Regions from separate parts of the Homo sapiens genome. Here all the other regions are linked to region 6. Evidence: promoter capture Hi-C in 16 types of primary human blood cells and fetal thymus (Javierre and others, 2016). All regions are on one chromosome and are shown on one strand. Each heading gives the region's core, a stretch centred on a gene start or on the middle of the fragment in contact. The rest is flanking DNA. Distances are from core to core; before and after follow the strand shown.

Region 1 (3,088 bases), core at 2-2,501, 320 kb after region 6:
ATAGTCACATTCTGGTGTATGGTGATTGGGGCTTTAGCATATTAAATTTTGTAAAGACACAGTTCAGCCCATAATACCTCCAATTCTATTTTCAGCATAAATAGCAGTCAAAAGAGAGTTTACATTGAGGGCACTTGGTTGGGGGGTGTTCTAGAACTTATATCTTCATTAAGATCCATGGATGCATTCTAAAGGAATTGCTCAAGGTTGAACTCCTGAAAATAAAAAATAAAATCACAAAACAGTGAGATGCAAAAAATTTATGAGCAAGGAAAGAAATAGAACTTATATGTAAATGTAAATAATTGTTAAGACATTGTTTTAATATACATGAATTCAATTTTCTAACATGTTATTCAAATATTTCATCTAGTTTCATAAGAATATCAGTTATAGTGTCACCTAATGGCCATAAAAATCAATGACTTGGAGATAAAAATCCCAGATTATATAAAAAATTTGAAGATAGTAGAGAAAGCAATGACTTGAAGAATGAGCAGACTCCCAAGGCCACAGCATAGGCTGTGGGAAGCTGGGTAATCCGGAAAGGCCTTGCTAGGTTTCTCCTGGGAGAGTGTGGATGCTGGCTGGCAAAGCCTTTGACCAGGCAGAGATGCAGCCACGTAGTTTTGGTGCGTGCGTGTGCAAAAGAATACGGCAGCTCCTTCGAGCCGGAATCGAACCAGCGACCTAAGGATGTCCACAAATGTTTCTACAGGCTACAGTCCTCCGCTCTACCAGCTGAGCTATCGAAGGGCGCACGTTTCTGGGGTTGGGTCATTGATCTTTCAGCAAATGCAAGACTCCTTGCAACTCTAGTCGTCCAATAAGCTTTAAGTTGGTTGGAACTCGCCTTAGAGAGATAATCCTGCGCCGATCGCCACCGCGCTCCTTTTGCGGCGGAACAAAATCCTCTGGCTGTGGTTGACTGGCTTTCCCCGGCATCGATAACAACGACCCATGAGGGGCGAGCCGGGTAGGGGGCGTGGGGGTAGTGGTGGGAGTGTGCTCTCACTTGCTATCTTCTTCCTCCTGTGCATCCCCCTTTCTACAGGTGAGGATGACAGACCTCAGTGGCAAAAAAAAAAAAAAGTGAGAGGGTGAGAGGCAGAGGGGTTGGCGAGGTGGATGCAGGGTGCGGGGGTCCGGTGAGGGAAGGGTTGCTGGAGGAGAAAGGAGGAGACCTGGAATGGACACTGGTAGAAGGCTTCCAACCCCAGCCGAGCCGCAGGGTCTGGTGGTGGCCGGTAATGAGGCCCTTCCCTAACACTCTGACCTCCCTACACCTTCCACTGCTCTCCCACCCCCTCATCCCCCACCCCCGTTCTTCCTCCCGATGCGCTTTCTGCCTTCTACCTACAGTATCCTAAGTTCACGTATTGGCCCGTTGAGGTGTACTGGGAAGTGAGGGAAAGAACAAATAGAATTAGGTGAGGAGACCCCTCCCAGGGATTGCAGAGGCACATGTAATACCCCTCCTCCCTCGGGGCCAATCTGGTGGTTGGCTTCCCTCCTCTGCAAACCAATCAGAAATATTTTGCCACTTGCAACTTCTAGAAGTAGGACAAGGCTCTGTGGGCTCTGAAAAAGCAAAGGGGCAAGGACCAGCCTGAGCAACACGGCAAAACCTTATCTTTACAAAAATTACAAAAATTAGCTGGGTGTGGTAGCACAAGCTTGTAGTCCCAGCTACTTGGGAGGCTGAGGTGGGAGGATTGCTTGAGGCCAGGAGTTCAAGGCTACAGTGAGCTATGATTATGCCCCTGAATTCTAGCCTGGGTGACAGAAGAGACCCTGTCTAAAAAAAAAAAAAAAAAATAGGGGATGGGTGAAGTAGAAGACAGAAGTGTCAGTGTTGGACTGCTTACCCTGACCCCATGTGTTTGACAATGTTTCAGATCTTATCTGGTGTGTGTCACTATATCGGGGGACCTGCCCCGATAATCATGTAGGTTCTTTTCTATTTTCCTAAGCATCGACTGGCTTGAGAAATAAAAGGACAGAGTACAAAAGAGAGAAATTTTAAAGCTGGGCATCCGGGGGAGACATCACACATTGGTAGGATCCGTGATGCCCCACAAGCCACAAAAACCAGCAAGTTTTTATTAGGGAGTTTCAAAAGGGGAGGGAGATACGAATAGGTGTCGGTGACAGACATCAAGTACTTAACAGGGTAATAGAATATCACAAGGCAAGTGGAGACAGGGCGAGATCACAGGACCACAGGACCGAAGTGAAATTAAAATTGCTAATGAAGTTTTGGCACCATTGTCATTGATAACATCTTATCAGGAGACAGGGTTTTGAGATCAACCGGTCTGACCAAAGTTTATTAGGCGGGAATTTCCTCTTCCTAATAAGCCTGGGAGTGCTATGGGAGACTGGAGTTTATTTCACCTCTGCAATCTCGACCATAAGAGACAGGTACGCCCCGGGGGGGGCCAGTTCAGAGACCTACCCCTAGGTGCGCATTCTCTTTCTCAGGGACGTTCCATGCTGAGAAAAGGAATTCAGCGATATTTCTCCCGTTTGCTTTTGAAAGAAGAGAAATATGGCTCTGTTCCCCCCGGCTCACCGGCGGTCAGAGTTTAAGGTTATCTCTCTTATTCCCTGAACATTGCTGTTATACTGTTCTTTTTTCAGGGTGCCCACATTTCATATTGCTCAAACACACATGCTGTACAATTTGTGTACTTAACGCAATTATTACAGGGTCCTGAGACAATATACATCCTCCTCAACTGACAGGATTAAGAGATTAAAGTAAAGAGAGGCATAGGAAATCACAAGGGTATTGATTGGGGAAGTGATAAGTGTCCATGAAATCTTTACAATTTATGTTTAGAGATTGCAGTAAAGACAGGCACAAGAAATTACAAAAGTATTAATTTGGGGAACTAATAAATGTCCATAAAATCTTCACAATCCACATTCTTCTCTCATGGCTTCAGCCGGTCCCTCTGTTTGGGGTCCCTGACTTCCCGCAACACCACTACCCCAAGACCACTGGGACACCCACCCCCCAGCTGAACACCTACTGGAGGTGCAGCAAGCCACATCCAAGGAACCTGGCCACCATTGAGTTTAA
Region 2 (3,437 bases), core at 505-3,004, 470 kb after region 6:
TCACCCCTCTGTCAGTTCACCCTGCATGGCAGTGTCCCAGGCTGTAGCTCCCTTTTGTCTAAAACAGCCCACACTTAACAGTTTTATGTTTGGCATCAGGGAATCTACAAGGAAAGGAATTTTCTCAAGCCACTAAAATCCAAGTCAGAAGGGAAGGCATTTAATTACTCCATTCACCGTTCTCCAAAGTGAATCAGATTTACAGTTCTTACCCCTTGCTGGAAGGCAATGCCAGAAACAGTACCTAGACAGAACCGCTTCAGAAATCAGGTGTTTGCAACTGCGTTTTATTGAAAGAAAGAGTGGAGGGGTTAACATGGGGCCCACCTCACAACCCACTCTTCACCCCCAAAATCACGCAGGGATGGGACTCAGGAAAGGGAAGCATGTGTGTGTTGAATAGGAGCCCTAACTGTAGTTACTTCTTTCACAGCAGGGAAGGAAGAGGGAAGAGGCAGCTGTGGAGAGGATGAGGTTGAGGGAGGTGGGGTATCTCGCTGCTCTGACCTTAGGTAGAGTCCTCCACAGAAGCATCAAAGTGGACTGGCACATATGGGCTCCCTTCACAGGCCACAATGATGTGTCTCTCCTTCGGGCTGGTCCGGTATGCACAGTTGGGGTACCTGGAGCCGTTTGTCAGGCGGCAGTCTGTGATGTGCATGCTGGAGTTGCTCTTGTAGCAGTTGCCCTGCCCGTTCTTGCAGGTGACCTTTTCCTGGAAACAGACATTCTGGACATCTACCAGGGGCTCGTGCACAAAGGTGTTCACTGGTTTGCACCGCCCCTGTGTCATATTCCGGCGCCTCATCATTTGGTTACAGTAGGTGGAGCTGCTGCTGGGGGAACTGTCTGAGTCCATATGCTGCCGCTGGAATTTCTTGGCCCGGGATTCCTTGCCCAGGGAAGGCTGGACCCAGCCCAGCACCAGCAGTATCAGGACAAGCAGAAGGAGCCGGACAAGAGACTTCTCCAGAGCCATGGTGGCCTCACTTTCCCAGAAAAGCCTAATTGAGAAAAGGAGAGAGAAGGAAAAGAGCCCTCTTAGAAAAAGAACTCCAGCTCCCACCTATGGCTTGCCTGGTTTACACTTTCTGTTTCAGGTCAGCCAGAAAGACGTCCATCCTACTTCCTGAGGTTTTTCGTGTAATGAGACACTCACGTGTACCCTTTTCCACGAGCGTTTTATTCCCACTCTCCAAAGCGAGGTCTTCCTCCCCTCTAGGTGGTGACCTACAAAGTGACCTAAAATCCTGTCAGTTCCTATCTTTGAATACTGGAGTTTCTTTGATCCAAAATACATTTGTACCCAGTGCTCAAATGGCTCATCGAAACATCAGTTTGAATAAATCATGAACCAAATTGTATCCCCGACATCCAGGGCCATGGGTGACAGAGCCTTGTTGTCTTGGAGCATAAGGGAACTCAGGCCAGTGCCTGACACTGGCATCATAAAAGATTCCATTGTATTCCAGAGAGAAACGCTGGCCTCCCCCAATTTGGAGGCTCCTTCTTCTCCAGTCCCATGGATGCTCTGCAGCCTGCACGTTCCACCCTGACCCCTCTGCCCCCAGCTGATGTTTGCCTGGGCCACATTTTTTCAGCGCTAGCATCACCCAATCTTTCTCAGTGCTGTGGACTGGCCCTAGCTCCCTCTTCTGCAACCCTGAAGCAGAAGCGGCACCTGAGAACACCTCTTGGGCTGCTTACCTGGATCTGCAGCTTGGTGTCTGAGAGAGATGGAAGGCCAGTTTCTGCAATCACTCAGCTCCCGGGGTGTGGACCTTATACAGATTACAAAGGGGTTTGGCTTCCAAGAGGAAAAGGGTGGGAGGAGCATCTGGAGCTCAGTTCAAATAAAATCAAGGACGTGAGGAAGGAGTGGTGAATCACCCAGGCCGCCGTCTTTCTAGGGCTGCTGAAGAAAGAGCAAATCTTTGCCTACGTTAGTCTTTCTTCCTATGTGAACCACATCTGTCTGCTGATGCACAAGGAGCAGCAGAGAAAGCCACTACAGCACTGGTGCCCAAACCTGGCACACTAGGAACAAAGTCCTTGTTACTTCTTCGTGGGCGTTTTCACCAAGTAGACTTGGAGGTTAACAAAGGACGCAAAGGAGAGGTTCTAATGGGAGATAGGGAATTCTGGCCAAAGCTATTCCAGGGCTCCTAGGGAGCAAAACCCAAGTCTCTTTCTAGGAGGGCATTCTCCCAACGCTACCTCTCCCGGGGATGGGAGGCGGGGTCGGGGGGAATGGAGGCTGTCCTGCTGCCCCCAGCTGGAAGGCTTCCCAGATCTGGAGAAGAAAGGGGGAGTAACTGAATAGGGAGGAGGAGGAGGCCTCTAGGGTGCGCTCACCCAGTTCTGGCCACTTCCCACCCACCCTCCACCCCTGCTCTGGGGGCATCGAGAGGATGGGGCTGTTCTTATCTACAGTAACCACTGACCCTGTAGGTCGGAATTGAGTAGAGGAACTAAAGATAAACTTAAATCCCAAATCTCAAATTCTTTTTGGGGAAAAAATACAAAGAATATCATATTTATTAGCAGCAGAATGCCCTCCTAGAAAGAGACCTGTTTTTTTGCTGAGTAACAATTTGGATACCTCTAAGAATTATCAAAATATCCCTTCGTGCTGTGTATTCAGATTGTTTCAGCCTTTCTGTGTAAAAAGTGGCCATAGTGAAATTATCTGACCTACCTTGTGTGATTGTAGGTCGTAAGATCCTCATTCCAGAGAGGGTCCTGCCCCCCATACCCAGAAAAAAAGGACGAATGCTCAGAGAGGCCAAGAAGAATCTAGACAGGGAGGCCTTGCTGGGTTTCCCCACTCAGTCTATTTTCATTAGATCGCCCTGTTGTCCAGTCATATTTCTACACAGCTGTTCATACTTTGTTGATATCCAAGTGTAAGAATGCCCACTTTCCCCTGTTATCTTTGGGTCTTCTGAAGGCTCCCGTGTCGTGTAAAACTACGATCAAATCAATTTGTATGCGTTTTTTCCTATCAATCTGTCTTTTGTCAGTTGATTTTCAGCAAACCTTTGGAGGGTGAAAGGGGAATTTTTCCTTGGCCCCTACAGTTTCCTTACTCCCCCAGCCCCCACCTGTATTTTATTTTTCTGAGTCTTTAATAATACTTTTATTCTCTTGAATAGTCAAGTTAGAATGTGTTCATTCATTCATTAGACTGTGGGATACAGACATAAATAAGGCACAGGACTCACCTGAAGGGCGCCTGGTGGGATGGTTTGGTTAGTCAGGTGGACCCCACTAAGGCACTGGGCGTGGCTGCACAAAAGTGGCCTCCACCCAGCAAGATGATTTCAGAACCACAGTTCAGATGTGAACAGATCTTCTGTAACTATAATAAGGCTCTTCAACAGCCCCTGGCCCTAGGAATCCTGAAACTACAGGAAGCCATTTTGTCTATTTATGCA
Region 3 (3,411 bases), core at 896-3,395, 490 kb after region 6:
TTTTGTTTGAAAGGATTAAACCAAGGACCCACCCTAACTGCCTGCCTGACTGGGTTTTTTCTTTTCTCCTCTGTCAACACAAAGGGCTATTCCCAGAGAGAAAGAGACTCAGCTGAGAGCTAGCTGTTCATCACCATCACTAGTCAGTGGAGGGAATGAGTGCCGTGTTCCTGAAGTGGGGGAACTGGGACATGCACCACCGCATCCACTACACCTTGCCCAATTACTTCCTTGGCATATATTCCTAGATGTGTTTAGAGAACATGGACTTTTGATAAGGCTTTAGATAATGTCAATTGCCTTCTATAAAAGTGGTATTTCAGCGAGGTGGCTCACGCCTGTAATACCAGCACTTTGAGAGGCCGAGGCGGGCAGATCACGAGGTCAGGAGTTTGAGACCAGCCCGGCCAATATGGCAAAACCCCGTCTCTACTAAAAATACAAAAATTAGCCAGGCATGGTGGCGGGAGCCTGTAATCCCAGGTCCAGGGAGGCTGAGGCAGGAGAATCGCTTGAAACAGGGAGGTGGAGGTTGCAGTGAGCTGAGATCGTGCTGTTGCACTCCAGCCTGGGCAACAAGAGCAAGACTCTGTCTCAAAAAAAAAAAAGGTATTTCACTTCTAATAGGAGAGCAAGAGACCATTTTTTCTTCTGTGTCAAACAATAGCGTGCCCTTGCCTGCTCTTTTATCTGTGATTCCACAGCATTTCACACTTTATTATACCATGTCTCACATTCAGTGGGAATTCTTTCTTCTCAGTCTCCCAAATTACACTGTTTTCAAGAACAGAAAGGGTGTTTTATTCACACATATCTCCTGATCATGTGCCATGTATACAGTTGGTCTCCAATTAATACATGTCAAGTAAATTAATGTCTCATTGTAGAAGGCTACGGAGTCACAGAAGATTAACTGACTAGAAACAAAGAAAATACTATACAAAAAATATTAGACATGGTGCAGAATCAAAAGGTGGTTGTGGAAGAAATGGAATGTGTTTTTCATGAAGGAGGAATGTAACTACCCAGTGGTTTCACCTTGCCCACAGCCTAGACAGAGCCAGTTTATCAAGACAGGGGAATTGCAATGGAGGAAGAGTAATTCACACAGAGCCGGCTGTGTGGGAGACCGGAGTTTTATTATTACTCAAATCAGTCTCCCCAAGCATTCAGGGAAGCAGAGTTTTTACTGACAACTTGGTGGGTGGGGGGAAGCCAGTGAGCCAGGAGTGCTGACTGGTCAGTTAGGAAACAAGACCATAGGGAACTGAAGCTGTCCTCTTGCACTGAGTCAGTTCCTGGGTGGGGGACACAAGATCAGATGAGCCAGTTTATCAATCTGGGTGGTGCCAGCTGATCCATCAAGTGCAGGGTCAGCAAAATATCTCAAGCACTGATCTTAGGAGGAGTTTAGGGAGGGTCAGAATCTTGTAGCCTCCAGCTGCATGACTCCTAAACCATAATTTCTAATATTGTGGCTAATGTTAGTCCTACAAAGTGAATCTAGTCCCCAGGCAAGAAGGAGGTCTGCTTTAGGAAAGGGTTGTTATTGTCTTTGTTTTAAACTACAAACCATAAAGCAAGTTTCTCCCAAAGTTAGTTCAGCCTACCCCGGGAATGAACAAGGACAGCTTAAAGCTTAAAAGCAAGATAGAGTTAGTTAGGTTAGATCTGTTTCACTGTCTCGGTCATAATTTTGCAAAGGTGGTTTCAGAAAGGTGTCATGATGTGTACAATATCATCTGAAAAAGAATAAATGAGAAGCCTAGCTCTCCAATAAAAAGGCAACAATTAATGACTGCTACTGTAGAAAGGTGAATTTTCAAAAACAGAGAAGTGGTGTAATAAATATAGCTCAGGTAATATAAAAGGTCAGGGAAAAAAAGTGTGTTTTTTCCCCAGCTCTGCTACTTATAACTTGATGAGACTTTTCGATAAATCTTTTTGGAAGCTCTTAAAAACTACCAATGCCAGCCAGGTACAGTGGCTTACGTGTGTAATCCCGGCACTTTGGGAGGCCAAGGCGGGCAGAACACTTGAGGTCAGGAGTTTGAGACCAGCCTGGCCAACATGGTGAAACCCCTAGTTATAAATAAAGTTTTGGTGCCACAAAAGAAATAGCACTCGAATATAAAATGTTCTTTTTAATTCTCAGCAAGGCAATGTACTTCTATAGAAGGGTGCACCCTTACAGATGGAGCAATGGTGAGCACACACTTGGACAAGGGAGGGAAAGGGGTTCTTATCCCTGACGCATGTGGCCCCTGCTGCTGTGTCGTTCCTCTATTGGCTAGGGTTAGAACGCACAGGCTAAACTAATTCCGACTGGCTAATTTAAAGAGAGTGACAGGGTGAGTGGTTTGGTGGGGAAAATGGTTATGGCAGAGGAAGTAATCGGAATGAGTCAGGGTGGAGCAGGTAATTGGAATGAGTCAGGGTGGAGCAGGTAATCGAAAAAGGTTGCTTTACGAGGAAGTTAAAAGTAGAAGGCAAAGAATTGAACATACGAACATACTGACATACTGATTCTTTGAAGAGAAATTTAGAACTCATATCTAACAACCCCTCCTCTTATATTTCCTTACAGTTTTTTCTCTTCAAAATTCTTTAACATGTCTCGGCTTAGTTGTTTTGCTTGATTTTCCAAAGGAAGAAGCTTCTCTGGATAAGGTGGAGGATAGTTAAGGGAGGTTTTAGTGAGTGCCATTTTTATGAGCCTCTGCACCAACCCATGGATGCATGGTGTGACACAGCACCCGACAAGAATAAGTACACCCATTACGGCTGTGAGGGAAGTAAGAATTGAGGCTATTATCCTTTTCCATTTACTGAACCACTTTTCTAGCCCTCCTATAAAGGGGTCATTTACCCCTGAGTTGTTGGCTAACTCATTGGACACAGCAGTCAGACCTTGCAATGCCTTTGTTGTACTTCCATCAGGGGCGGTGTTGTTTGGGATGAAGGTACAACATTGAGTTTTAATCATGATGCAAATTCCTCTTCATTCTGCTAATATGTCTAAGGCTATCCTATTTTCCCAAGCCATCTGGCTAGTAGCCTCTAATTGCTCAGCTATTCCTTTAACAGCAACTCTAGTGTAGTTAATAAATTGCTGTTGGTTGTAGTAGATGTAGTTTATCCAATCTACATTTTTATTAATTGTCCCCCACCAAAATATTGACTCAAATCCTGCAGCTCTTTGATTTCAGGTTTTAAATTGATCTGGTATTCCCCATGGGATTCCAATTGCATTTAAATAGATGTGAGTCGAAAGACCCGTAAGTGGCTTCTCTTGCTTTACAATGTCTTATTTTTCCTTCCTCCGATTGATGAAATGCCAGGGTGAAAAGGATAGCCAATTGTACTAAAGCACAAGTGCCACTCCAGTTATTTGGCAGAGCTTCCGGTAAA
Region 4 (3,075 bases), core at 532-3,031, 440 kb after region 6:
TCAGGAGATTGAGACCATCCTGGCCAACATGGTGAAACTCCATCTCTACTAACATACAAAGAAAAACATTAGCCAGGTATGGTGGCACGCCCTTGTAGTCCCAACTATTCAGGAGGCTGAGGCAGGGGAATCGCTTGAACCCAGAGGTGGAGGTTGCATTGAGCTAAGATTGCGCCACTGCACTCCAGCCAGCCTCAAAAAAAAAAAAAAAAATTGGTTCACAAGCAGGTTAAGTGGATTGTGCCACTGACTCCAGCCAGCCTCAAAAAAAAAAAAAAAAAATAGGGTTCACAAGCAGGTCGAGAAATTCTGTTTGCTAATTGCAGGAGTGAGATGCAAAGTAAGAAATGTTTACTTCATACAATTCTCCCTGGAGCAGTATGGGCCAGGGAAAATGCTAAACAATAAAGTACCTTGTGTTCTTCAGACTCCTACAATGTGGAATGACTCTGGCCTTGAAACAATTAAAGAAAAACCAAAGTGTCAACATTATTTATTAAGTGACTGCACACTTTCCTATAACTCTAGTAGCCAGCGTATAAGGCAGTTCCTCAGCTTTGCAATTTTTGAGTGCACCTGGGGAGGAGCAGACACCTGGGGATGACAATCTCTACCAACCAAACTCAGAAGAGACTAGTATTAAACCAGTAGCTCTGCATGTAGGATCAATATACATATGAGAAGAAACAATACTGTTTGTTTTTCTCAGTTGACAAACGCTCTTCAAAATGTATGTAGGGAAGGAAAAAATTTTCCTTCTACCCCTTTGGTTCTTGGCTGGGGCCACCGAAACAAAAGTCAGATTAACAAGAGAAAAATAGAAGTTTAGTAACATGTGCATCTCATGCATACATGAGAGAAATTCAGAAAGCAACTCAAAGAGGTGGCTAGAACTTGGGCTTAAATGCCTTCCGCTAAAGCAAAGGAAGAAGCATGTCGGGGAGCAACTTACAGGGGGATGACCAGGAAAAGTACAGTAAACAAGGGAAAGCTTTCTCATGCAGATTTAAGTCAGTACCTTCTCCGCTGATAAGGGTTTCTTTTGATTTAGAGTCACCTTTCTCTTTCTGGTGAAGAAAGGGAGACATCCTTACAAATGAAGATTTCCCTTATAAACGCAAATGTCCCTTACAAAACAGCAACGTGCACTCTATTTTCAGAGTTTGTCTTGTGTATACTGCTTCTCAAAATAAGCAGTTCAAAATAATATTCATAATAAAGAAGCATATTTTGGGGTGGCATATTCTGGTCTCCTATAGTAGATTCTCACAAATACCTCATTTAAGTAACTCTTTAAAACTTGCTTTTATTAAAGGGTTAGCAGATGGTTGTTCAAAATAGTATAGGAGGAAAGTAGATTTAAGGGCAATTAGTAATAGCTTTGTGTTGTTTCTCTGGCTTTCCCGGTGGTCCACCCCTTATTTGGATAGCTGCATATTGACTCTCCTTAGGTATCTACCCTTCCTCTTTTGTGTGTAGTATTGGTGAGGCTGTCCACTAAGGTCTGCAGTCCCCTCTACTGAGCCAAGCGATGGTTATGAGATCCAAGCTAGCCTAACTGAAGTCTCATAGGAAACAAGAATATGTCACCCCAAAATATGCCTCCAGGTTGAAAGTCCTGTCAATTAGCATTTTTGCTGCTCTGCATCCTTACTGGCTTTGATGATGTCAGTTTTCACTGCATTTTAGTCATTCATGTAGGTGTGTAGTATTATCCCATTGTTTTAATTTGCAATTTTCTAATGACAGATTGAAGGGATTCACAGCCCACCAATATGGCAAAACTGCCCTTGCAGAGTTATGGAGTGTTGCAAGCCAGGCTCTAGGCAGAATTGCACATTAATCATAGCATGCTGGTACACTTCAACCCACTTCCCTGTAGCTTCTAATTTCCCAAGTAGCATGCTGACCACCTACTCCCCGATTGTTCCTATAGGTAGAATCTCCAATACTAGAATCATGAAATCTTTTTGCTTAAGAATTGCTTAAGGTGTTTTTCTGATCCTGAATTCCAGTGCAACAGCTAATGCTAACCAGTCTAAAGACCCCTACCAAGGAACTGGCTTGGCACATGAATGCTGAGTTTCTTCATGTCCCTGTCCCATGACTTCACCTCTCACTTCTTGATGAATCAGAAATGCTCACATTTTGGCCCTTGTCCAGACTCCTTAAAAACCCTATCCCCAAACCCAAAACCAAATTGTAGGTTACCTCCCATCTACTCATTTGGCTGCCCTATGAAAATTAAACTCTCTCTTTTTCAATCCCTGTTTTCTTAATATATCCATTTGTTGTGCATCAAGTAACAAATCTGTTATGATGATAGTGGCATGAAAATTATTTTAAACTGAAAATGTCTGAACAGACAGAAGCTGCAGAAAGAAACACTATTTAAACTTAACCAGAGCCTCTTGAAAATTCAGCTGCCATTGATCCCCTTCAAAGGTATTTTCCTGTTTGAAACGAGACAGCCCCTTAGCACTGGGATGTGTAAATTAGCTTCCATAAACCCCCATACAGGGAAACTTCCAGCCAGGAAGAAATCAATCTACCCATTTCTATTAGCATCAGAAAGCTTACTAGAACCTTCCATATTTTCCTTTTGAAGCCCCAACAAAAATCTTTTATTTTTTATTTTATTTTATTTTTGAGACAGACTTTCACTCTTGTTGCCCAGGCTGGAGTGCAGTGGCGCAACCTTGTCTCACTGCAACCTCCGCCTGCCAGGTTCAAGAGATTCTCCTGCCTCGGCCTCCCGAGTAGCTGGGATTACAGGTGCCCACCACCATGCCTGACTAAATTTTGTATTTTTAGTAGAGACGGGGTTTTACCATGTTGGCCAGGATGGTCTCAAACTCCTGACCTCAGGTGATCTGCCCACATTGGCCTCCCAAAGTGCTGGGATTACAGGTGTGAGCCACCATGCCCGGCCAAATCTTTTTTTAAAAAATAGAGATGGGGGTCTTGCTATGCTGTTGGTTTCAAACTCCATGCCTCAAGTGATCCTCCTGCCTCAGTCTCCCAGAATGTTAGGATTACAGGCATGAGCCACTGCACTTGGCCAAAAACACTTTT
Region 5 (3,357 bases), core at 553-3,052, 380 kb after region 6:
CGAGGCTATGATCTTTTCCATCTACTGAACCACCTTTCTAGCCATCCTGAGAAAGGGTTATTGACTCCAGAATCTTTAACTAATTCATTGGATAAAGCAGTAAGTCCTTGTAAGACCCTTGTTATGCTCCCAGTGGGGGCAGTGTTGCTTGGGATAAAGGTACAGCCCTGAGTTTTAATCATAACACCAACACTGCCTTTTTCAGCTAATATCACATCTAGGGCCATTCTGTTTTCCCAGGCCATCTGGCTAGTGGGCCCCAATTGTTCTGCTATCCCTTTGACAGCATCCCTGGTGTAATTAATAAACCACTGCTAATTATAATAGACGTAATTTATCCAATCTATGTTTTTATTAATTGTCACCCACAAAATCCTGCAGCTATTTAATCTTGACTCAAATCCTGCAGCTATTTAATCTTGATCTTTAAATTTATCTGGTACTCCTCATGGGACTCCAATTGCATCTAAATAAATGTGGGAGTTGAAAGACCCATAAGGAGCTTCCCTTGTTTTATGATGTTGTATTTTTCCTCTCTCTGGTTGATGAAATGCTAGGGTGGAAGGGATAGCCAATTAAACTAGAGCACAAGTGCTGCTCCAGTTACTTGGCAGAGAGTCCAGTAAAGGTCCACCACAATACCACCATACATATGCTTGGGGATGAACAAGGGCTGACTGATTGGTAAGCTCTTGGAAAGTCTTAAGCTCACTGCATCTTTTTAGGTCTCCAAGGAATGCTAAGTTTCCTCCCTGTAGTGAGAGATATGAAGTGAACTTAGCGTCAGGGGACAGAAGCTGAGTGGACCTTGGGGGCTGACCTGCAGGGTATTGAACCTCAGGATATAGCAGAGAGAGCTTGACACGACTTTTTACCCCAGGCTGTGTAATCCTGGAAAAAAGTAACCATACAGCCCATGCCTAGTAGACTAAAGGACTATCCTAATGGAAAGGGGACAATCTGGGCTTCTGGTCTGCCGTGCGCACAAGCATAACAAATGCTTTTGTTTAAAGTGTGGATGGAATGTTTGATCCACTCCAACCAGGCATTAGCATCTTGATATTCTGTCTCAATTGCCAAAGTTTGTTTTAGGTCTTTAACTTCTATAATAACTACCTTGGTCTTGTCATTAGATGGAGGAGAACAACAGTTTTGTTGTGAGAGCTTCTGGAAGAAGGCTTAAGGGAAGGTGTAGGCGGCAGAGGATCAATGAATTGTGTTTCAAAGGATCTGATAGGGTCTGTTCCTGAAACCTCAGCCCCCACACCATAAAACCGGCTTAAAGAAGGGAACCGGCTTAGAGAAGGGGAAGAGCTTTGAGGGTTTGAGATAATAACCTGTATTGGATTGCACGGTTCAGCTGACAGCTAGGTGAAGCTGTTCCTTTAGTAAAGTGAATATATGACTTTAGGAAATTACAACCACTGGTTGGGGCAGCTCATCCTTGCTCTTTAGTGGTCCACAGAATGTTGGACCAACTGTGGCATAAAAGCTCTGTCTTGCAGGAGCAAGACTCCCAGCTGATACTGGGGTCTTTATTGAAATCTCTCCAGACTAAATGATCCCCATTCACTAATGTCCAGTCTGAGGAGAGCCGGGAAGGACAGAGGTACTTTTCTGAATTGGAGAGCTGTCTTTAACTTGACAAGTCTCCACAAGGTATAACAAGGCAAGCATCAAATGTAATAGTTTGAGGTGAAATTGACTTTGTTACATTAATAATGAGGTGGTCAGCAATAGAATGAGGAAAGAAGAAGGAGTAATAAGAGAGTTAAATTTTTCTTAGCTTGGCTCACGCCTGTAATCCCAGCACTTTGGGAGGTCGAGACAGGTGGATCGTTTGAGGTCAGGAGTTCAAGACCAGCCTGGCCAACATGGTGAAACCCCATCTCTACTAAAAGTACAAAAATTATACAGGCGTAGTGGTACACGCCTGTAATCCCAGCTACTCGGAAGGCTGAGGCGGGAGAATTGCTCGAACCCGGGAGGTGGAGGTTGCAGTGAGTGAAGATCGCACCACTGCACTCCAGCCTGGGCAACAGAGCAAGACTCTGTCTCAAAAAAAAAAAAAATTTCTTAGCTTTAGTTTGGTAGGGTTTTCCCCTGGGACTATGGCCCACGACTCTGGAGGGGGCGGCACTTTCTTGACTTGGGTGTGATAGGTCCATCCTTTTTCTGCTGTCTGGACTGCGCTTTCAGTAGTTAGGAGCACTAGATAAGGTCCTTCCCAGGCCAGTTCCAGCTTTTCCTCCTTCTAGTTTTTGATGAGGACTTGATCCCCGGGCTGATTTCGATGTACTGGGAACTCCAGGGATGGTGCCTGTGCTAAAAGACCTTTAGTTCTAAGGGAAGAGAAAGTGGAAGATAAACCAAGTATATAATGTCTGAGAAACTGATCTTTTGTTTCGAAGGTGGAAATGTCAGCAGTGGAGTGTAAATAGGGCAACCCATATAGCATCTCATATGGGGATAGGCCAACATCTTTTTGAGGGGTGGTTCAGATTCCTAGCAAGGCAATGGGAAGGCATTTAGTCCATGGCAACTGAGTCTTTAAGACTAATTTGGTTAAGTGACTCTTCACGGTTTGATTTATTCTTTCTACTCTTCCCGATGAAGGTGGGTGCCAAGGAGTATGGTATTCCCACGTTATGTCTAGTGCTTGGGCTAATTTCTTAATGATATGTGCAGTGAAATGAGTTCCATTATTTGAATTAATATTTTCAATTTATTTGCCCAGATCCATTGGAGGAACCACTATCTATGACCGCTATAGTCTTATGAAATGTATTTCTGAAGTAATAAGACTTGAAAGCCAAAATTACTCCTTGATCCATGGGCTGCAGAACTGCAGAACGGATGTTGTGTGAGCAGGCATGGAAACTATGGAAATTAATATCTTTGAACATCTCCATCAGAGGCCTTAGGTAACCAAGTGCATTGCCAATCAGCAGTAGTATTTTGAAAGGAATCTTTTTTTTCTGAGCAGGTCTCAATAATGAGCTTAAAATATTCAGTAAACCATGATGTAAACAGATGTGCTGTCAATCAGGCTTTGTTGTTCCATTTATAGAGACAGGCAAAGTAGATTCAGCATAATTCCTAAGGGCCCTAGGATTTTCAAATGATACATGAGCACTGGCTTCAACCTGAAGTCTCCAGTGGCAGGTGCCCCCTGACAAGAGAGTTGGCCTGCCCTCTGAAGCTCTGAAACCAGGCACTGACTCCTCCTCTCTAGCTATGGGAGTCCCAGATGGCACCTTCTTCCACTATAAAGCTGTCTCATCTACACTGAAAATCTGTTGTTTAGTGTGGCCACCTTCATCAATGATCTTATCTAGAGCTTCTGGAGAACTTGCT
Region 6 (3,144 bases), core at 234-2,733:
AAGTAAGACACATAGTAGAGTAGGTATAGTAAAAGGGAAGGATACCTACACATATTTGCTTATATGCATAAAATATCTTAGTAACACTGTTATGAGGGAGAGGAATTGGATGGCTTAGGGAAGGGGATAAGAAACTTTGATATCTTTTGAATTTTGAACCATGTGAATGTATTACCTATTCAAAAATATATATATATATGATGTGTATACATATATATATATATATATATATTTTTTTTTTTTTTTTTTTTTTTTTGAGACAGAGTTTCGCTCTTGTTGCCCAGGCTGGAGTGCAATGGCGCGATCTCGGCTCACCGCAACCTCCACCTCCCGGGTTCAAGCGATTCTCCTGCCTCAGCCTCCCGAGTAGCTGGGATTACAGGCATGCGCCGCCATGCCCCAAAAAATAAATTTTAACAATGCTTGAGAATTATAAAAATTATGGGAGGCCTACAAATACCTATTACTACATTCGATTAACTGGTTTATTATTTGTCTTTCTCACACTTTCTGCCTATAAGAATATCCAACACAAACATCACATTAAAATTAACATGTACCAAAAGAAAGGAATTCAGTGAAATGACATTGAAGGTCACTAAGCAAACTTTTTATGAGAAAACAGATATCCAAAATACTTGCTGTAAATAAATAAGTACTGCTTACTTCTAAAGGTACCTAACATTTATTACACACCAACTAGAGCCTAGTTTTTATATATTTTATCTGATCTTGGAAAGCTAAGCCTCGGAATGGCTCACTGCTTCTCCCAAGGTCACCAGAGCTGTAAACTGTGGCGCTGGAATTTAAATCTAGAGGCTTGCCCTGAACTAAGGTCCCTAATCTTTTTCCATAGCTTTTAAGGACACAATCACCACAGTGGCAACATTAAAAATTAGGAGCTCCTTTTAAGGCTTATCTGTCTTCAGAGTTTGCTGCCCAGGTTCACCAAGAAAGCCGAAATGATCTGAGCGAAGGCCAGGAGAAAGACAAGGTACGCTGCAGCTTCCACAAACCCAGTAAGGACCTGGGCCCTCTAGACACTCACCGGAGAATTAAACTCTACTGAGCTGAACGCCTTCTCCCGAAATCTGACCTCACCCAGGGAGATATAAATCAAAACAGCATTAGGATGATAATATCTTTCCCGCCAAGCAAAATGAAGCCGGCGTTTTCCAAGAACACACGCACTGTGCACATGAAGCACAGTCTATTGTTCCTGGGTCACCAGGACTCGGAGACGGAAGGCAAACCCAGTACTGCAGAGGCCCACGTGGAAACAAGCCAGGAAGAGCATTTCACTGCCTTCTCCCAACCTCCACACAGCCGAAATTAATCTCCTTGCGACTCACACACACTCCTATGCCGACTTGAAATAAAGGCCTGCCACCTGGGTATATAACTCAAATGGAAGAGAAATTCAAAACAATTAGAGAGCAAAATTAAGCGCACACTCACCAGCCCACCAAAACGGAGAGGGAAAGAAAGTGGAGAGACAGGAAGTCGCCTTGGGAAGTGTCTTCAGAACCTGATTGGCTAATGAGTTCAAGAGGATTCCCTCCTCCTTTACCTTAAAAGGTGCTGAAATGACGTAACCCACTCCACCCCTCTTTATGGACCAGTGATGCTTCTTGCACTATTTTTGGAGTGAACTTCTTAAACCGAGTTTCCTTTTGAGTTAATGTACTTAGGCAAAAACAGGCTAATTTAAGCTATTTATACACGTTGTTGTTTGCGTGGGCCTACTGCATTCTATTCTAAAGAATTTTCATCCCTTAAGGGTAATTTCTTATCCTTTGTGACCTCAACATGCTTAACTTATGCTAGGCAACAGATTCCATTATAAACAGTCTAGATCGATTCAAGTTAAAATTTACCTTCATTTTTTCCCCCCAGATCCAAAGCTGGCCTGATAAAATTTACCTTCAGGTAATCTTTGAACTAACAGGCTTAGTAGATAAAAGGTAGGTGGGTTAAGTGTTTTAGGCTTCAAATAAAATTTAGCTGATTTTGAATCTGAACCTTGCCACTTATTTGCACACATCTAAGCCTCAGTTCCAACTATAAAAAGAGGGAAAAAAGATGAAATCTTCCTACTCTGATGGTTATGAGGATTAAGTAAAATAATTTATATAATGTACTCAGTACAATGCCCGGTACACAGTACTCAACAATGTTAGCTGTTATTATTGTTATTACATATTTCTTGTTAGATTTATATTCCCAAGTAGACTATAAACAACTGGAGATCAAAGTGTACGTTTTACACATCTCCAGACAAAAACAATGACTTTCAATGCTGAGGACATAATTGATTAATCAATTATTTTGACTCCTCACATCGCCCTCCAGTTAAAGTATAGGTTCTTACTCTGTTAAATTTTTTTTTTTTTTGAAACAGGGTCTCACTTCGTGTCCCAGGCTGGAGTGCAGTGGTGAAATCTCGACTCACTGTAGCCTTGACCTCCCAGGTTCAAGCGATCTCCTGCCTCAGTAAGTAGCTGGGACTACAGGCGTGCACCATCACACCCAGCTAATTTTTGTATTTTTTTGTAGAGATGGGGTTTCGCCATGTTGCCCAAGCTGAAAGATTTCTTTTTAAGCCATAATTAGAGGACTCCCCGGCACAATATTCATCATTATTCTTAATAAATACTATTATAGTAATAGGGAATATATATACAAGTATGTGTTATATGTACAAATATACATGTAATGTGCAAATGTTTGAAGTATAAAGATTCAAGTTATATGGAGAAATGATACAACTCTAACTCATAGTAGTTCTCATTTTTTAATCATTTCATCCTATCCACCCTGCTTCCACCTTACTAGAAATTACCTATTCCAATCCACTTTAGAGTTTACCTGCCCCAAATTTCCCAACATTTAGCATCAAATGCTAATTTGTTATTTCATAATTGATTTATTGTAACTTCTAGAGTCAAAACATTTCTTGAATGTTTACTATAAATATTCAAGAAATGTAATATTCATTACCTTGTTTAATCTTCACATTAACCCAAGAATGTAAGCACTTTCATTATAACTATTTCACCAAAAAAAAAAAAAAAAAAAAGGAAACAGAGTTATAGAGATTAAGGAATTTGTCTATTTAGCAAGTGGTAAAGTCAGGATTCAGAT
Region 7 (3,114 bases), core at 424-2,923, 340 kb after region 6:
GTTCTCAACTTGGTTTGGGACAAAATTAATTTTGATTTCTTTAAGTCCATAGTGCCTATTATTTTAACCTTTTGGCTTGACACACTGGGGAAACATGGGCCCACTATGACTACTTTGTCTCTCCTGACCTGGAAAATTAGTATCAGTGCAGACTGCCTGAGACCTTCGCTAGACCCAGATTCCCCACCGCCAGCAATCTCCCCAGTTTCTCAGTAGAAGCTATGAGAAGAGTGCAGCTGGTGAAACCACCTTTACAAAAATTATAACAGTGAAAGAAGTCTGATGTAACCAACTCCATCTTTTTTTTTTTTTTTTTCCGAGACGGAGTCTTGCTCTGTTGCCCAGGCTGGAGTGCAGTGGCGCAACCTCGGCTCGCTGCAACCTCCGCCTCCCGGGTTCAAGCGATTCTCCTGCCTCAGCCTCCCGAGTATCTAGGATTACAGGCGTGCACCACTACGCTCGGCTAATTTTTGTATTTTTTAATAGAGATGGGTGTTCACCATGTTGGCCAGGCTGGTCTCCACCTATTGACCTCAAGTGATCTGCCCGCCTTGGCCTCCCAAAGTGCTGGGATTACAGGCGTGAGCCACCGCACCCGGCTACCAACTCGATCTTGCTTCTAACCTCCAAGCTTCCTTTGCTCATTTCTGGGCGTATGCCAAGCAAACCACGGGAGGAATTTAGTTTGTAGTTTAACTTTCAGACAAACATGACAACAGCCCCTTCATGAAGCAAACCCCCTCCTTGCTTGGGGGTCAGACCTCCTTTGTAAAAGCAACAACTTAGCCCACAGTATTAGAAATTATGGCTCAGGAGTCATATAGCCAGAGGCCACAAGATCCTAACCTCCTCAATTGCTCCTATAGATAACATTATTATTGTAAAAATCTAAGATTGCTGTTCTAGGTATTTTTCAGACTCTGCATTCTGAATGGATCAGCTGGCGTCACCGAGATCGATAAACTGGCCCCCTCTCAGGAACTGACTCAGTGAAAGAAGGCAAGCTCCGACTCCCTGTGATTTTATCTCTGACCTAACTAATCAGCATTCCCCTGCCTGCCCAAATGTTGCGGGACTTTTCTTTAGTTCAGCTCAAGACAGAGTTCTTTGTCCCACGGCCACGAAAATTCAGGCTCGCAGACAATTGGAATGGTGAGTAAGACAGGGTTTTATTGGGTGAAAAAGGAAGAAAAGGGGGACTCTGCTAGGCCAGAGTCCCTGCTAGAGCACTTGCCGCCCAGGCTTTCAAATCCCAGGCTCCTCCCAGGAAGAGATGGGGCCAGGCTCCTCCTCGCTGCGAATGGCACTAACTTCCCGAGGTTCCACCCCAGTGCGCATTCGTCCCAGTGCGCAGGCTGGTCGGGGAGTCTGCGGGGACCCCCTTCCACCTGGCTGTCTCACAACTATCCTTGAAAAACCCTAGCCTCGACCGGACGCGGTGGCTCACGCCTGTAATCCCAGCACTTTGGGAGGCAGAGGCAGGCGGATCACGAGGTCAGGAGTTCGAGACCATCCTGGCTAAAACAGTGAAACCCCGTCTCTACTAAAAATACAAAAAATGTGCCGGGCGTGGTGGCAGGGATCTGTAGTCCCAGCTACTCGGGAGGCTGAGGCAGGAGAATGGCATGAGCCCGGGAGGCGGAGCTTGCAGTGAGCCGAGATCGCGCCACTGCACTCCAGCCTGGGTGACAGAGCGAGACTCCGTCTCAAAAAAAGAAAAACCCTAGCCTCTGAATTTTCGGGGAGGCTGATAGGAGTAATAACAAAGCTCCAGTCTTCCATTCTTCCATTTAGTTGGCTCTGCATTTACTAAACTCTTCATTGCAATAACACTGTCTCAGTAAATCAGCTTTTCTGGGCAGGGGCAAGATGAACCCATTAGGCAATTATGCTGGTGCTGGGAGCAGCATCTCTGTCCCATCTTTTCTATAAGCTCTGTCACAAAGAAGCTAATACTTTTAGAATATGTACCTCAAGTTAGCCTCTGAGGGTTGAAAATGAATGATTTTTAAGCCAAACTAATTTTAAGCACCCACAACCGACTGAATGGACTCCTGGGATTAAAGGTGTGAGCCACCACGCCCAGCCTCACCTGGATAATTTTTTTAAAAACATTTTTTGTAGAAATGGAGCTTTGCTATGTTGGCCAGGCTTGGCATAATTATTTTATAAATTGTATATACATATGTATAATTGTGTGTACTAGTAATAGTGAAAATTGACATTTTAAAAAGCAGTACAATTTACAACAGAGTAATTAAATATAAAATACTTAGGAATAAAATATGTCCAAGACTTGTACACTGAAAAAAATGCTAAGAGAAATGAAAGGAAACCTAAATACATCAAGAGACATTTCATATTTGTGCATGAACAGACTCAATATTGTTAAGATATTTGTTATCCCTAAATTTATTTATAGATTTAATCTAATTACAATAAAAATCCCAACAGGGTTTTTTTTTTTTTAAAGAAATTGACATGCTAATTCCAAAATTCATTTGCAAATTCAAAGACAGCATGCCCAAAACATCTTTGGAAAAAGCAAAGTTGGAAGACTCACTCTGCCCGACTTATTTATATTTTATTGTATTTATTATAAAACTGCTATAATTAAGACAGTGTCATACTGGCATTAAGAAATTTAAAACAACAGAACAATAGATCAGGAGTACGGAGATAAAACCACATACATATTGTTAATTGACTGTTGCCAAAGCTTCAAGGGCAATTCAGTGGAGAAAGGTAGTTTTCTCAGCAAACTTTAGAAAAATCACAACAACAAATTTTTTTTTTTTGAGACGGAGTCTCACTCTGTTGCCCAGGCTAAAGTGCAGTGGTGTAATCTTGGTTCACTGCAACTTCCCCCTCCTGGGTTCAAGCGATTCTCCTGCCTCAGCCTCCCAAGTAGCTGGGACTACTGTTGCGTGCCACCATGCCCGGCTAATTAAGAAAAGATTCTTGATCCCTACATTGCTCTACATATAAAAATGAACCTCAAGTAGATCACAGACCTACCAATAAAACCCACAACTTTAAAATTTTTATAATAAAATCTTTGTCAACTTGTGCTGGGGAAAGTTTTCTTAGATACAACACTGAAAGTATGACTCA

Evidence for each region. Contacts are between HindIII fragments. The CHiCAGO score rates a contact against its expected background, and 5 or more counts as called.
Region 1: a contact is called between a fragment that was not itself captured here and the fragment with the promoter of CCNB1IP1 in region 6, in 13 of 17 cell types (total CD8 T cells, naive CD4 T cells, non-activated CD4 T cells and 10 more). The highest score is 15.5, in total CD8 T cells.
Region 2: the fragment with the promoter of RNASE1 here is called in contact with the fragment with the promoter of CCNB1IP1 in region 6 in 3 of 17 cell types (erythroblasts, neutrophils and total B cells); the score reaches 5.5 in erythroblasts.
Region 3: a fragment that was not itself captured here is called in contact with the fragment with the promoter of CCNB1IP1 in region 6 in 1 of 17 cell types (naive B cells); the score reaches 5.0 in naive B cells.
Region 4: a fragment that was not itself captured here is called in contact with the fragment with the promoter of CCNB1IP1 in region 6 in 2 of 17 cell types (neutrophils and naive B cells); the score reaches 7.3 in neutrophils.
Region 5: a fragment that was not itself captured here is called in contact with the fragment with the promoter of CCNB1IP1 in region 6 in 1 of 17 cell types (naive B cells); the score reaches 6.6 in naive B cells.
Region 7: a fragment that was not itself captured here is called in contact with the fragment with the promoter of CCNB1IP1 in region 6 in 17 of 17 cell types (naive CD4 T cells, naive CD8 T cells, non-activated CD4 T cells and 14 more); the score reaches 29.8 in naive CD4 T cells.

The regions. Positions count from the first base shown.
Region 1 is chr14:20,652,437-20,655,524 of GRCh38, forward strand. TRY-GTA5-3 (tRNA-Tyr (anticodon GTA) 5-3) reads right to left here and starts at 756; the gene lies at 663-756. LOC124903281 (a long non-coding RNA gene) reads left to right here and starts at 876. Exons shown (of 2, transcript XR_007064059.1): 1 at 876-1,054. The HindIII fragment of the contact is 845 bases long and covers 830-1,674 here.
Region 2 is chr14:20,801,090-20,804,526 of GRCh38, forward strand. It overlaps RNASE1 (ribonuclease A family member 1, pancreatic), which reads right to left and starts at 1,755. Exons shown (of 2, transcript NM_002933.5): 1 at 1,708-1,755; 2 at 139-1,004. The coding sequence starts at 979. The coding sequence ends at 509. The region is part of intron 3 of LOC105370397 (a long non-coding RNA gene); the gene reads left to right. The HindIII fragment of the contact is 7,079 bases long and covers 1-3,437 here.
Region 3 is chr14:20,820,632-20,824,042 of GRCh38, forward strand. No RefSeq gene overlaps it. Among named protein-coding and RNA genes, the nearest start is that of RNASE1, 19 kb to the left of the region's middle. RefSeq lists a cis regulatory region at 1-288 and enhancers at 1-153, 1,099-1,393. The HindIII fragment of the contact is 1,018 bases long and covers 1,637-2,654 here.
Region 4 is chr14:20,774,259-20,777,333 of GRCh38, forward strand. All of the region lies in intron 1 of LOC107984671 (a long non-coding RNA gene), which reads right to left. Among named protein-coding and RNA genes, the nearest start is that of RNASE6, 5.5 kb to the right of the region's middle. RefSeq lists an enhancer at 677-1,280. The HindIII fragment of the contact is 1,584 bases long and covers 990-2,573 here.
Region 5 is chr14:20,716,303-20,719,659 of GRCh38, forward strand. No RefSeq gene overlaps it. Among named protein-coding and RNA genes, the nearest start is that of EGILA, 11 kb to the left of the region's middle. The HindIII fragment of the contact is 3,886 bases long and covers 1-3,357 here.
Region 6 is chr14:20,331,796-20,334,939 of GRCh38, forward strand. It overlaps CCNB1IP1 (cyclin B1 interacting protein 1), which reads right to left and starts at 1,484. Exons shown (of 7, transcript NM_021178.5): 1 at 1,459-1,484. RefSeq lists an enhancer at 1,254-1,563. The HindIII fragment of the contact is 11,464 bases long and covers 1-3,144 here.
Region 7 is chr14:20,672,618-20,675,731 of GRCh38, forward strand. No RefSeq gene overlaps it. Among named protein-coding and RNA genes, the nearest start is that of TRT-TGT5-1, 7.5 kb to the right of the region's middle. The HindIII fragment of the contact is 2,088 bases long and covers 630-2,717 here.